Regions from separate parts of the Homo sapiens genome. Here all the other regions are linked to region 5. The links are contacts of gene promoters, found by promoter capture Hi-C in human tissues and cell types (Jung and others, 2019). All regions are on one chromosome and are shown on one strand. The core of a region is centred on a gene start or on the middle of the fragment in contact, and the rest is flanking DNA. Distances in the headings are between cores, read along the strand shown. Region 1 has its middle 710 kb from the start of EDIL3. Region 2 has its middle 430 kb from the start of EDIL3. Region 3 has its middle 650 kb from the start of EDIL3. Region 4 has its middle 670 kb from the start of EDIL3. Region 5 holds the start of HAPLN1 (hyaluronan and proteoglycan link protein 1).

Evidence for each region. Contacts are between HindIII fragments. The study calls those that stand out against the background at their distance.
Region 1: a contact is called between a fragment that was not itself captured here and the fragment with the promoter of HAPLN1 in region 5, in 1 of the 25 tissues and cell types used here (lymphoblastoid cells).
Region 2: a fragment that was not itself captured here is called in contact with the fragment with the promoter of HAPLN1 in region 5 in 1 of the 25 tissues and cell types used here (dorsolateral prefrontal cortex).
Region 3: a fragment that was not itself captured here is called in contact with the fragment with the promoter of HAPLN1 in region 5 in 1 of the 25 tissues and cell types used here (mesenchymal stem cells).
Region 4: a fragment that was not itself captured here is called in contact with the fragment with the promoter of HAPLN1 in region 5 in 1 of the 25 tissues and cell types used here (dorsolateral prefrontal cortex).

What each region holds. Positions count from the first base shown.
Region 1 is chr5:85,094,551-85,097,356 of GRCh38, forward strand. No RefSeq gene overlaps it. Among named protein-coding and RNA genes, the nearest start is that of EDIL3, 710 kb to the left of the region's middle. The HindIII fragment of the contact is 4,884 bases long and covers 1-2,806 here.
Region 2 is chr5:84,815,547-84,818,246 of GRCh38, forward strand. No RefSeq gene overlaps it. Among named protein-coding and RNA genes, the nearest start is that of EDIL3, 430 kb to the left of the region's middle. The HindIII fragment of the contact is 3,314 bases long and covers 1-2,700 here.
Region 3 is chr5:85,029,727-85,032,426 of GRCh38, forward strand. No RefSeq gene overlaps it. Among named protein-coding and RNA genes, the nearest start is that of EDIL3, 650 kb to the left of the region's middle. The HindIII fragment of the contact is 4,337 bases long and covers 1-2,700 here.
Region 4 is chr5:85,052,336-85,055,201 of GRCh38, forward strand. No RefSeq gene overlaps it. Among named protein-coding and RNA genes, the nearest start is that of EDIL3, 670 kb to the left of the region's middle. The HindIII fragment of the contact is 3,308 bases long and covers 1-2,866 here.
Region 5 is chr5:83,719,352-83,722,231 of GRCh38, forward strand. It overlaps HAPLN1 (hyaluronan and proteoglycan link protein 1), which reads right to left and starts at 1,504. Exons shown (of 5, transcript NM_001884.4): 1 at 1,438-1,504. The HindIII fragment of the contact is 27,926 bases long and covers 1-2,880 here.

The DNA of each region.
Region 1 (2,806 bases), core at 270-2,769, 1.4 Mb after region 5:
GAATCCTCAAATCTCTCTTTCTAGCTTTGATTGTAACTTCTTGATTATCTTGCTGTATGAACTTGAGCCTCCTTTTTTAGACCTGCTGTTTTGTGGATTTATTAGCATTATAATTTCTCTCATGTCTTTAGCTACTAATCCCCTATTCTCTTCACCTCTCAAAACTATCAAACTAACCAGAACAATTGGAATTTGGAAAGTTCAAGGATTCTTATCTAACCTAGAGGGCAATTCATTATTGGTAGTAGCATAGCAGAATTCTTTATAAAAATAGATGCTTGAAGAAATATATTACAAAGCTTTTCATATTTATTCCAGGAAGGAAGGGCAGACCCCTCATGAAGGAACACTTATTAGCACAGATCTATTTCACTCACAGTAAGTAGGGCTCAAATAACTAATAATTTTTGGTTAAGCTGCTTGCATATTTCTTTAATTTTTTTTTTCAAAATATTGAGAGAATAGAGCCTGTTTTTTTCTTCCCTTTTAGGATTATACAAACTTAACTACATGGAATGTGACAGAAAACTACATGCTGTTTCTTTATATTTCTTCATGAGGCCAATAAACCTCTCTGTATATCTAGTCTCTGAAAAGCCTTATTTATTAATAATTTCCTGAAGTCATGATAAAATCAAGACTACGATTAACCTCAGGTTATATAGCTATTGATGTTCTTTGATGTTTCTCTGGAAAATATTTTCATTTTTAGCATGAGGAAATATATTATTTACCTCTACTTTAGAGACTTCTTTACCATGTGCCATTGATAGATTTTTCTCCCTTCTGTATCCTTAAGCCTTTTTTATACAGAAGACCTTGTGCTATGATGGTCATCACATTATAAATACTTAAGAAAGAACAAGCAAATCAAATCAAACCTATACAAAAAAATTGGACAGATTGTGCCTATTTCCCTTTTTCTAGTGACATAGTAATTAACTCTCTTCATTTTTGGTGTACTTATTTATATTATAATGTTTACATATTAAAGACAATTTGGATAATAACAAAATATAAATAAAAAAACACCACTCAGTCACAAGCATGATTCATATTTCAGAATATCAGTTTCAAATTTTTCTAGGCATAGCCTAATTCAGTTTTAATCATATAATCCTGTGATGACATATAATCATAAATACATTTTAATCATAAAATTACAAATTACTTATCTGTCACTTTATAGCCTCAATGCACGTAAATAGTTCCACTATTTCAAATAACACTTTTAAGATAATTTCTTGTATTTGATATTATTTCCTTGGTCTTAGACTCAGAAGTAAAACTTTTAGAGCAAAAGAAATGTCTCTGAGCCAGTGTTTAGGGCATTTCATGGTTCTATTAAGACAAACTCCCTTATATTACAAATGGGACAATAACCAGGCCCTGTAAAACACGTTCCTTTTTCTGAGGCAATGTTGTGCAAAATATTATGTCTTTCTTAATTCCTTGGATGATGGTGAAGGTAAAAGCATTGCAGACAGAAAAAAAAATCACATTGCCAGAGTATATGTCAATTCCAGTAAGGATGTGTTGTGGTCCATAGAGGGTGAAAAGGATCTGATGAAATAAACAGTCATATATTTGATAGTAACACATTAAGAGCACAGAGTTGATTTCTGCTTTGAGAAAGTTAGATATTCAGCAGTGGTAGACGTGGAATAAGTGGTCAGGAGTAGAGGGCCCATAATATGGATACCCAAAAGAGCTTTCATACACTCCTCCAAAGCCATCTGTTCAGTGCTCATTTTGCCCTGACTGGAGTTCTTGAGAAGAGAGGCTGGGTGAAATCTACTTGGTTGTTGAGTATCTCCTGTGGCTAATTTCTGATGGGCATTAACACGACACCAAAAGATCTGCACAACCTGGTTTACTCCCATAGGTCTATGCACATTCAACTGCCCCAGACTACTTTGTCTCTGATCTTCCAGGATTGCTCCTTCCAGATGCCTAACCAACCAACAGTCATTCACAGCTGGTAAGGTATTTATGTGTCTGTTCTTCAGGCTGCTTTTCCCTTTAAATTGTACTCTTTGGAGGTCTGCCATTCCTCTCCTTTATCTCAGTGATTTAAGATCGCTTACAAGTTTATAGCTAATACCAACATATTACACTGGCAGCCTGTGATTCAAGCTTGAGGTTTTTCCCCCTCTGCCAGTTGCTCATAGGGAACTCCCCTTAACACCTAAGTATAAGCTGAGGGAGAGGCTGTGGTACAATAGAAGAAAGAGTCAAGGGAACGCCAAAAATTTTATTAATTAACTAATTAACTTGGCTCTGCCGTAGCCTATACTTGAGTGTATGTTTCCACTTTGGAGTGTTTAGCTGCTGTGCCCGCCTGGCCTTATGACTCAACGAATCTGATAATATGAAACTCATTATGAGCAGTTCTATATTCTTTGTTCAGGCCTTCAGTCACTCTAAGGGCTCTAGAATAAATTATTTTTGAAAGCTGAAAATGTTTTGTGTGTGTGTGTGTGTGTGTGTGTGTGTGTGGCATGATGATCAGAATTCCGGGAAACTAGGAAGAGAATTTCATGCAGACTACCAGATATTCCATACAGCATTATTATTTGCCACTTATTATTTTAGCTCCATCAGGTTTGCTGGATAATATGACCTAAGTTGTCAAGAAACTTGCACTATAGCTTGTAATTGCAGCTAAGCCCTCTTATAATCTTAGGTCCTAACTTGAAGTCTGCAGACTACTCTAATATTATATCAGAAATATATTTCCAGGTATGAAATATGGTGCCTCCAATCTGTATGGGTCTTACAGTGTGCTCTCTTTCTTAGTGGTAGG
Region 2 (2,700 bases), core at 81-2,580, 1.1 Mb after region 5:
AAAGGGTTTACTTTTTGCTCATGTTAAATGCAGGGGTCAGTGGTGGTTGCTCGGCTGCTCTTTGTTTTTTCCTTATTCCAGGATCTGGGCTAAAGGAGCAGCTCCCAATGGAATAGGTTGTTCCTATGCAGAGCAGAAAGATCAAGAAGGCAGCAAAAGGATATAATGGCTCTTAAAGCTGCTATTGGAAAAGGGCACACTGTCACTTCTGCTCGCATTTCATTGGCTGTGGCAAGTCACTCATCCAAACCTTTTGTCAGTGGTGTGGGGTGACAAGGAAGGCACTGCTTGTCACATGGCAATATATGGAGGTGTATAGTCCTACAAAGAAGAGGGTGTCACTAATGGGGAACCAACATGCAATCTGTCATGGTAGACATCTGGAAAAAATACAAAATCAGTAATAATATATGAACAACAGCTAAATAACTGCCAGGAGAATCTGTCTGTGAAGTAGTAACATAATATTTGCATTGTGTTTTTTACTTTACACTGGGTTTTTACAGACATAATCACATTTGATTCTCACATCATCTTTAATATCCATTTTACAGGTGATAAAGTTGACATTAAAGATTACATAACTTGACCAAATGATAAAAATAAATAATCACTTTAACAGATTCTTATCCTCCAGCTGAATTTCTATCCTCATTCATTCACTTGAGCATTCATTTATTCATTCCTTTATTTAACTAACAGTATTTTAATATTTACTTGTGCTAGTGAGAGAACTTTTTGTGCTTTTTTAGAGCTCAAAATCATGTGGTGGTGGAGGCAGAAATGCACTCAAATAATTGCTAAAGAGTGAGATAAGTGCTACCAAAGGTAATGCAAAAGGCTAAAATAACACTTATGATGTGCCTGCGGGTGTTTGACATTTAGATTCAGCAGAGAGTTAGAGAAGAGTTTGAATCTGCCAGGTTGCTTTAGAGGGAAAGAGGAAGAGGTGAGGATGGAGAGGGAAGGGGAATAGTGAGGGAAATCATCACTTTATCATAATCTTCTGAAAATATACACAGGTTGGCAATTTGATTACTTGCTTTTAGGAACTGAAACTCTTTTTAGAGGTCACCTGTACAAATGTAAGCTGGGTAGTTTAACACATTAAGCTATTTGGTCACACATGTTCAAGTTATTTTACCCCATTAGCTGGTTGTTTACAAAGCAGAATCCTGGATAAATATGACATAGATTAGCTCATTCTGGAAGATGGAAAGGCTTCAAAGATGACCCAGGTGCAACATCTTTCCTGAGAAAGAAGCATGAGCTCTTGGACTTGGAGGTCAAAGCTAGGGAAAATGAAGATGCATAATGGAAGAAGGAGTAAAACCTAAATATATGTCTTTGCAGTTGTCTCTGAGAGGAACCATACTAACTTGAGATTGTGCAACAGTGAATCATACATCTCATTGTTGGCTGTGCTTTATTCCTTACTTTCAAGTGCTAGGTATAAAAGTCTTTGCTTAAGGAATCTTTAAGTAGAGGAACCAGGGAAAGTAGGCACGATAGCTAAAATGCACAGTGAAAGAGAACACTGAAGACTCTGAATGACTTAAGGAAGAAATAAAAAAAAAATGCAAAGTAGGAGTAGAAGCCGCAAAAGTGGGAAGGGCCAGGAACTCTGGTGACAGTAAAGGCATCAGAAAGACAGGCAGGCTCAATCACATTAGAGCTTCCAATGTGTAAAGATAAAGTTTTCATTAAAGTCACAGAAGCTTTTGATAGTGCAGAAGCCCAGAATAACCAAGTGCCACATCTGCTGCATAAGATCAATGCCATTTTTAAAGCAACAGGATAAACTGGACTGAGTTGAATCTCCTGCTGTGATTTTAACACTCCCTCTACTCAGTTCTTCCTAAGCAAAGCTTCAACGATTTTACAGGAGCTTTTAGTATGATAGTGTCTATAAAAGGCTATCTGGTTTGGGCTGCAATATAAACAAGCAAAATCATTTAGTTATTGCCTCATCTCAGATTTATGCTCGTTGATATACCAGGGATTTCCTCACTTTTTTTTTTCTGGAAATATTAAACTGTGAGATATTTGAATTTTGTTAACAAGTTAACAATATAAATATTATTCAAACTAAATGGCATTTGTTATCAGATAAAACTCTGTTCTTCCTAAACATGAACACACAATAAGCATGTTTGAATATTAATATGTAGTGATGTATAAATATATATGTGATATATAAATATGTAAAAAACATATAACAATAAGCAAATATGTTATTTCTGAGATTGAGAGATACATTAATAACTGTTTTGTTTTATTTTTATTTATGTATGTGTTTATTTATTTTTGAAATGGAATCTCTCTCTCCAGTCTGTCGCCCAGGCTGGAATGCAGTGGTGTGATCTCAGTTCACTGCAGCCTCCGCTGCCTCCTGGGTTCAAGCGATTCTCTGGCCTCAGGCTCCAGAGTAGCTGGGACTACAGGTGCATGCCATCACCGCCCACTGATTTTTGTATTTTTAGTAGAGATTGGGTTTCCCCATGCTGTCCAGGCAGGTCTCAAACTCTTGACCTCAAGTGATCCCGCCTGCCTCAGCCTCCCAAAATTCTGGGATTACAGATGTGACTTACCGCACCCGGCCTATAATTAGTTTTAAAGCTTCAATCTTTTGCTTCCCCTCCCCTCCCCTCCCCCTTCCCTCCCCTTCTCTCCTTTCATTTTTTGACAGTCTCACTCTGT
Region 3 (2,700 bases), core at 35-2,534, 1.3 Mb after region 5:
TTCATTGCAGACCCACTTTGTGATTGCCAAAAATTTTTTTAAAAATACAGTTGGTATTATTAGAAAATAAGTCTCATTTCATAGTTTAAAATTAGGCATATTCAATGTCTGAAAAATCTGATAGAAATTTATACCTGTTTGCTCATGGAGAGAAATGCTGGTGCCTAAGTTTTTTTTTAATTCACATGTGCATTTCCTACTTAAAGTTGAGCTGAAAGACTTTTAATACAAATTCTTGATATCATTCTGGTTAAGACACTAAAAGCTTGGAAACAACTGTTCTATTTTCCTAAAAAAAGGAAATAATTTTTCGACTTCTTCATTCATCTATAGAGTTAAAATAAAAAGGTATTGGTAGGAAATTTAAAATGTACATATTTAGCTTTTTATTTTTCTTCCAAAAACTCTATCAAACTTATTAAAATTGTAAATAAAATAACAGCCAAAAACAAATTATAAACACATTGATCCCTTTCCATAGGCATTTATACACCAGCTGTTATTAATATTAATGGCTGTGTATTTATCATAAGCATGATCACTTTTTAAAATTTGACAGCAAATATGGGTATTAAAATGTCATGTTCTGTAACAATTCATTGTAAGCTTTTTATTTATTCCCTCTGAATTATGCCAAGATTCATTACAAAATCATTTGTTGAAATCCTGTAAGTCTGTTTTACCCCCACTCTCTTTCTTTTTCAGATGATCTCCTCTAGATGTGAGTGGTCAAGGGAATATTGACTCTATTCATTGACACTTAAATTGTGGCTTCTGGGTCAGTGCTCTGACTGAACCTGTCTTTCTTAATTATCATCTAGCAACCAGATGCCAAATGTATTTCCTGCTTCAGGCTGTATAGCTTTATTTCAGGGACCTCTGAGTCTTTTAAAAAAAATCATCAATTAAGATTGCTTTTGTCTAAATGGAAAAAACTCTCTCATATTACTTCTCTCTTTTAAAACAAAAAACAATTTCCATAAGCTCTTCAAGTAAGTTTAGTGAGTCCTGTATAAGAGAAAAAGTATTCTTTAGTTCTTTATTTTAGGGATGTCTCTTTAGATTTTTATAAATGTAGAGCCATTTAATGTAATATTAATATGTCATTCTGTGTTAGACTGAATATATACTGTTAGATAACTAGTTCTGCTGACTATGTGTAATTTAACTACACTACAAAATCTGTGGGATGCCAAAATAATGCAATTTTTAAAATTATAATTGGAATGTGTTATGTTCTCAGTTCTCAGAACAATGATTGTCATATGAACAGATTTATATAGTGCCATTTTCTGTTTCATTATAGTCTTTGCCATAAGAATGAGGTGGTAGAATTTTAATGTCTCATACATTCTGTCGATTACAGTCTTCTAATATACAGCTTTGACCTTTTCAATGTTCTATGATTTGATTGGCTACTCATTGCATTTTTCCCTTGCTTTCTGTCCCACTAACCTGTAGGGAGGATATAGAATGGACAGCCAATTGAAGTGTAGAATATTGAAAAGGTCAAAACACTACAATATGTTATCTCCACTCAGAATACATCACATACTAACCAGATTTTGTAGTTGCTCTACACGGACAAGGAGAAGAGTGGTTGCTGTGGGGGGAGTGAGCAATAAGATAATCACTCCACAGTTCAGTCGACAAATTGCAAAAGTCATGTTTTCCTGAATGTCTTAGTCATTTTCAAAATTAAAGTGAAAGCCCATTTCAAAAGTGAATACAAATTATACAGGTTGAGTATCATTTATCTGAAATGTTGGGGACTAGAAGCATTTTGGATTTTGTTATATTTTAGAATATTTGCATATACAAAATGAGATATGGGGATAAGGCCAAGTCTAAAGAAGAAATTCATTTATGTTTTTATGTACACCTTATATACATAGCCTGAAGGTAATTTTGTACAATATTTTAATTACTTTATGCATGAACATGGTTTTTGAACATTGAATCATCAGAAAACAAAGGTATCAGATGTAGAATTTTCTACCTGTGCCGTCATGTAGACATTCAAAATGTTTCAAATTTTGGAGAATACCAAACTTTGGATTTTCAGTTTAAAGGTGCTCAATCTGTATTTAGTTTTGAGAGTTAAATCAACCTCTTCAGAATCTGTTAAAGGATCTTTGCCTATATAGCTGAATAGATGCAAAGAAACCATCATTTCCGACACTCTTCATGCATTTTTGATAGTATATAACATTTTCTTTATTCTGGTATTTCATTGAAGTTGACTAGCTCTTGTGATTTTATCTTTTTTAAGAATGATATAAAAATAATACAGCAGCTATTACATATTTTAAAAAATTGATATTTCTTTTTAGAACTTCTTTACTATCAGAATTCTGAATTCTAAACTTTAAAAAGATAAATAATTACATATGATTGTGGTAAAAACTCTGATTGTTGATCTGTTATATCTTGGTGGCATTGGAACCCATGTGCCTTTTGCTACTCACTTATGATTTTGATTTTACTCACTCAATATCCCTAAGAGGTAAGTTGATTTTACATTAATAACTATGACCAAGACTTATGTACTCTCACATCAAAAACAAAACCAATATCAGCTTTAGAATCTGCATTCTCCAAATAAATTTCGCCGGTCTTTACTTTTAGTCTAATTTAATTCTTTTTTTAGTCAACTTGTTTGGACTGTCGTAAATTACTCTGCTCATTAGAATCTTGTAA
Region 4 (2,866 bases), core at 167-2,666, 1.3 Mb after region 5:
CTTATTTTTAGGTAATTTCTATAGACCTATGTTTAAGCTTACATATTCATTTCTTCTCTGTGCTAAGTCTACTGATAAAGCCATCAAAAGCATCTTCATTTCTGTTGCTGTTTTATTTATCCCTTCATTTCCGTGTGATAATTCCTTGCGGTTTCAAAATAATATTCATTTTTACTCTATGTTTTATCTTAAAAGTCACTTTACACTACAGAATATATTTAATAAGTCCCCCACACTCCTCAAAAAAGACTGTAATGACAATTTGTGTCTCAATCCTCTGAACTGAAGTTTCTCATAGAAAATTGTTTCATGCTTACTGAGGATTCACCAAATAAACTTTGGTTTGATCATTATTTTTCATCTTTTTAGTGTTTAAATATTCTAGAATAACTCTGTCATTTTCAGTTTTTAAATAGTCATATCCCTACTTTTCAATAGAGGTAACAGTCTTGTGTAGATTCCCAAAAATAGATGAGGGAAAGAGCGCTGTGGAGGCACGTCCCTCACTCCAAGAAGGAGCTAAGCTCTACAACCACAGAAAGAGAGGAGTCACAACAAAGCTGATCTGGCATGTTCTCTAATTTTAGCATGTTTTTCATACTAATAATAGTTATTCTGAATTCCCTGACAATTCCAACATCTGTGTCCTATTTGTTTCTTGTTTTGATTGCTTTGTCTCTTACGACTGTGCTTTTTCATGACTTCTTACATCTTGTAATTTTTTATGTTAAAATTTAGTCATTTTGTATGAACAGTGGAAATTGAGGTAAACAGTTTTTATTTTTGGAAATAAACATGCCTTTGTTAGGCATTTAGTGCAGGGAGATGTTTGAGTTCATCTAATTAGGAATTAGTCTGGGTTGTAGATTCCGGATTGTAGATTTGTTGTTGCTATAATTAGCCTCAATGGACCACAGCCTTCAAATTCCTGTAGGACTATCTTTTGTTTAGGGTGGAGCTTAGTTTATTAGAATGATGACTGTTTTTAAGTTTTAGATCTACTCTGCACTGTGCCACAAAGTGGGTCTTTTTGATTGTTCTTGTTCCGTCTGCTCCCTACCAGCAGTTTTCTCCTTTTACTGGTTATCCAAATCATGTTATCTTGGCAGTTGAGGGTGGAGTGTGGTGCTTTCTTTGGTGTTATTATCAAGCCCAAATCTAAGGTATGCATGTGTCTCTGGGTTTCAGAAATGTGGCCGTTTTGTTCTCCAGCTACACTTTTCAGCTCAACGCATAATTTCATCCCACTCCAGGAATAAGCTTTATTTATTTTCCTTTCCTCGGCTGCATGAGTTTTCACAAATGGCCTAGGGGGTACAGTATTTACAGCATTTCATCCACAGTTTAAGGCTTTTGTTCAGTAGTATAGATAGGAAAGAAGAATCTGGCAGATTTTGTTACCTCTTCTATAAAACTTTTCTATTCTTCTTTCTTAGGCTTGCATCACAATGCGTATTTCTTAAGGTTCTATCTTTTCTGTGAGTGTGCAGGAAGAACCTGGAAGATGATATGGACTCCCATAGTTTGAGACTCACTAAAATTTCAAAATGTTCTTCTGGCTCACACTTGGTCTTGGGCAATTTATCAATTATTCAACTGAGCCGTTCTTACCTCTGTGTAGGTGAATCTAGCCAAAGGCCACAAGTTTGTACATCCCCACTCTGCCTGTCAGTACTATGTTTCCTTAATTTTTTGGTTAGTTGATTGTTCTAAAACTTCCACAATCCAATAAGTTTTAAGAAAATCATATTTCATTTTAAGGGTAGGGGTGATACTCCTTCCATATCTTTATACCCCAAGGCAAAAGCTGAAAATCCTGTGATAGAATTCTATAATAATATTATTAGGCTGCTCTGCCATACCTTATTTTCTATAAGTCACCTGACTAAAGTTAATTAATACTTATGGTTATTGACGTGACACAAGAGATGTTATTTGCATTTAATGATACAAACTGCATAAGACACTGAAGAGAACAACTCAAAATGTGACCTACATCAAATTCTTGCAAGTTTCCCAAATTCCGGAAACAAGAAAAATGTATTGCTACTTTGCTTGATGTTTTTTTTTTCAAGTACAATGAATGTGTGTATAAAATTAAATGCAAATCTGTAGTAGAGATTTACTATTAAGTTTTTTAAACATGCTGAACAATGCTGGCTGAAAAAATAAAGAAATAAAATGTCCTATTGAAATTGGATACTGCAATTCAACACTGGACAGCTTTAGTTCATATATTTCAATGACCATCAAGCTCATATACTGTTAGATTTAATTATCTCAAGTATATAACTCAGGAACCCTGGTATGTTATTCTAATAGCGCTATGAAGCTTCCAGTATTTGCAGCTGTGGCCAGAGCATGTTAATCAAACTAGTGTCTTATAAAATGAAAGTGATTATAAAATGTTAGTATAATTTATGTGGGGTAAGAAATGGAAGGGAATATATATTCAGAAAGCCCAGTTTTGAGATCTGACAATACAACAATTTTCTTTTCCTTCCAGCAGATAAGAGAATTATATTTACAGAGCTTATATTTTAAAAATAAATCTAATGCTTGCTTTTTCTTACTTGATCATGAAGTGTTCCCCTGGCTAAGGATGCCACTCAAAAACATATTCTATTTCTGTTTATAAGTACCACTGGGACAATGCTGATATTGTACTTGGTTTCTTTCCAGAAAAGAATATTCTTTCTTTCACTTTACATATTCATTTTACTCTAGCACAGCAATATTTTCAAGTTTTTAAAATGTAAAATTGATTTTGTGTTATTGAAAATTTTATTTTGAAAATATTGAAATAGCACCAGAATTCAAAAGAGGTAATTTGAATGTTTGCTGCCCTAATTTGTTGCAAAGATAG
Region 5 (2,880 bases), core at 254-2,753:
TTGTTCATTTAATTAGCCTTAAGTAAAATTACTTCTTATCTAGTTCTGTTTTTAAGCTGTTTCCAATTTAGTGGAAGAGGTCATCAACAAAAGTATAAATTCATTTCTTAGCTGAAACAATTAAATTTTTTAAAATGGGTGGTATAAAAGTGACTAAAGACTAAAGCTAATATCTGAAGAGTCCTTTGGTATACATTATATTTTACTGAATGGAAGAGAAACTTTCATTTTTGTAGGTAAATGGAATTTGTTAACTGATATAAGAATTATGAATCATATCACATTAAAAATTCTCCAAAGATAACTACTATGATATACTTTTGATAGAACAATATTCCCATTCCATTAAAATACTGAAATGACTGAAATGTGTATAAAATCTCTGCAAATTTAGTACACAGAAATAATCACATAGAAATAGTTACCAGAAACTACAATTGTAATGAATAAATATTACATTCATTTAGAAATCAATCCACAGCCTTAATTTCTTAAGAACTATTAGCTTCCAAGAAGCCAGCCAGTATGTTTGATTTTATGACATCACACTGGAACATGTACAGGAACACTTTCCACCCTAAAAATTCCCAAATGTACTGGCCACTGTGTGTATTTTTCCAGTGATAAATGAAAATAAAGCAACTTATTCTCAAATTAATAAGCCATCTTATTTTGAACACAACAGTCACATTCAATGGAAGAAAACTACTTAATCGAAGCCCAAACAAGTTTAGGTTTGTTTTTGGTGGGGAACAGTCTCAACATACAAATAATTTCTTTAAGCAACTTTTAACAGTAATCTTAACTATGACTATAAATTCTCTTCAGTGCATTCAAATTATCCATCAACATCATTGTATATATGAAATGCATCATCATTCTATGATCTTAAGTTCATAATTAGCTGGAGAAGGAAGCCTGGGCCAAAAATGGCAACATTTCTAAGATTATTAATCTAACAGGTATTACCTATGCCTAAAGTAACTTTCTTTTTCACATAACCCTATATATTCTCTGAAACAAAATTCATAAGCCTGGCTGGACATTCCCATTCCTCACCTTTCCCTTCAGCCTATACTATCCTTGTTTCATCTCAGGTGCTATAAAAATGGTTGTTGAGATACAGATAGAAAAGTCACCACTTGGAAACCATGACCCTACCAGATTTACAGGAGCACTAGCAGAAGCTAAGATACTAGAGTTAATTCTTTCTCCATTTTTAGACTGAGCCTGTTTATTGTAGTGAAATATTTTATCCGACAATATGAAACTTTTTTAAAAGTTGAGGTGTCATATTAAATTCAAATGAAAACTAAACTCAAAAGAAAAGAATAAAATTTGTTTAATGTATATATACATTGCATGTGTATTGCCCTCTGAAATCTTAAAGGCACAAAGGTATAACCAAAAGAGGGGGAAACAATTTGCAAGTTTTACCTTGTCCTGAAATCCAGGAGTTCGGATGCTCTCAAGTTCTGCTTAAGTTGGAAGCTGGAGATCAAGTGAAGCTAGCGCTCTTTCTCCTCACCTTAAGTTTGTCTCTGGGCGAGTGTGAGAGTGTGTGTGTGTGTGCGTGTGTGAGTGTGTGTGCAGAATGTCTCTTTGTGGCGCTGGATGGCAGAGGTCCTGATCCTGGGAAGAAGGAGGCACTTTCTCACCAAGAGCAGAAGAAAAGCAAAGCGTCACCAGGAAAGTTCTCCTCCCAAATCCCCTAATTACAGCCTAATGTGCACTTCATGCAAACTTCAGGGAGGAAGGGAGGGGCAGCTCTGTGCCCAGACCTTGTAAAGCAGCAGCCTCTTAGATGACTTTCCCCTCTGCTCAGATCCCGAGTATCCCGCTCTGGGGTTTAGGAAAGCCGGCCGCTACAGCCACACAAGCCCCCACCACACCACACCTCCCGAACCCGAACCCTCATCAGTCCTGGGTCTGTCCAGAAGGGATGGGACAAGGGGTCTGTGGAATGATCTGCGGGGCAGCGGTGTGAGCAGACTCCTCAGGACAGTCAGTTTGCGCTTTGTTTTATTAGCCTCTGCTTAAAAGAAAAATCCAAGGGTCGGAGAGGTCCTCTCTTTCCCGCCTTCCCCTCACCAAAGGAGATCAAGGATAACAGACAATGATGATAGTGGCACATAAAGCTTCTTAAACTGGAGATGGCCTTCCACCCAAATCACCAGAAGCATATTTTCTGGTTTACTGGACTCAGTATTGGTGTTGAGTTTAAATTTCTCTTAACAAACAACTGCTATTGTATCCTTGGATGACAGAGCTCAAAGAACCTGGATTTATTTATAGAACGAGGAATGCGAGGGGGAGACGGGATGGGTGGGGTTGGGTTGTGGATCCATAACCAGGATTAGAACCAGATGGGCACAGGGCGCGCGCGCGCACACACACACACACACACACACACACACACACACACAGACACACACACCCCTGAAATAACCAGTGGGGAAGATGCTGGGACACGCGGGAAAACGCCTCCTGAACAAATAGACGTTTATTTATAACTTCTGGGAGAGTATATAGGTCCATTGATTCCCGCCTTGAGTAACCAAGGGTTTTGGAGAGGAAATGGCTTCATATTTCAATAACAGAGCCACCTTTGATGGAGTCTAGGAAGGGGAAAAAAGAAACACACCGCAGGAAGCAAACGGCTGTTGGAGCAGCCGGGAGGAGGGAGCGGGGCTGGCCCTGGGACTGAGGACAAGCAAACAAGCTCGAGGGGCCCGCGGCCAGGGTGGAGGCGAGACGCAGGCCGTCCCCGAGTTGCAGCGAGCAGGGCCCGGTGTCGCGGAGCGCTGGGGACGTGCGGGGATTCGCGGCCGTGCTCCCGGCTCCAACCTCCGGCCCCGGCGGGGCGGCGCGGGCGGGACT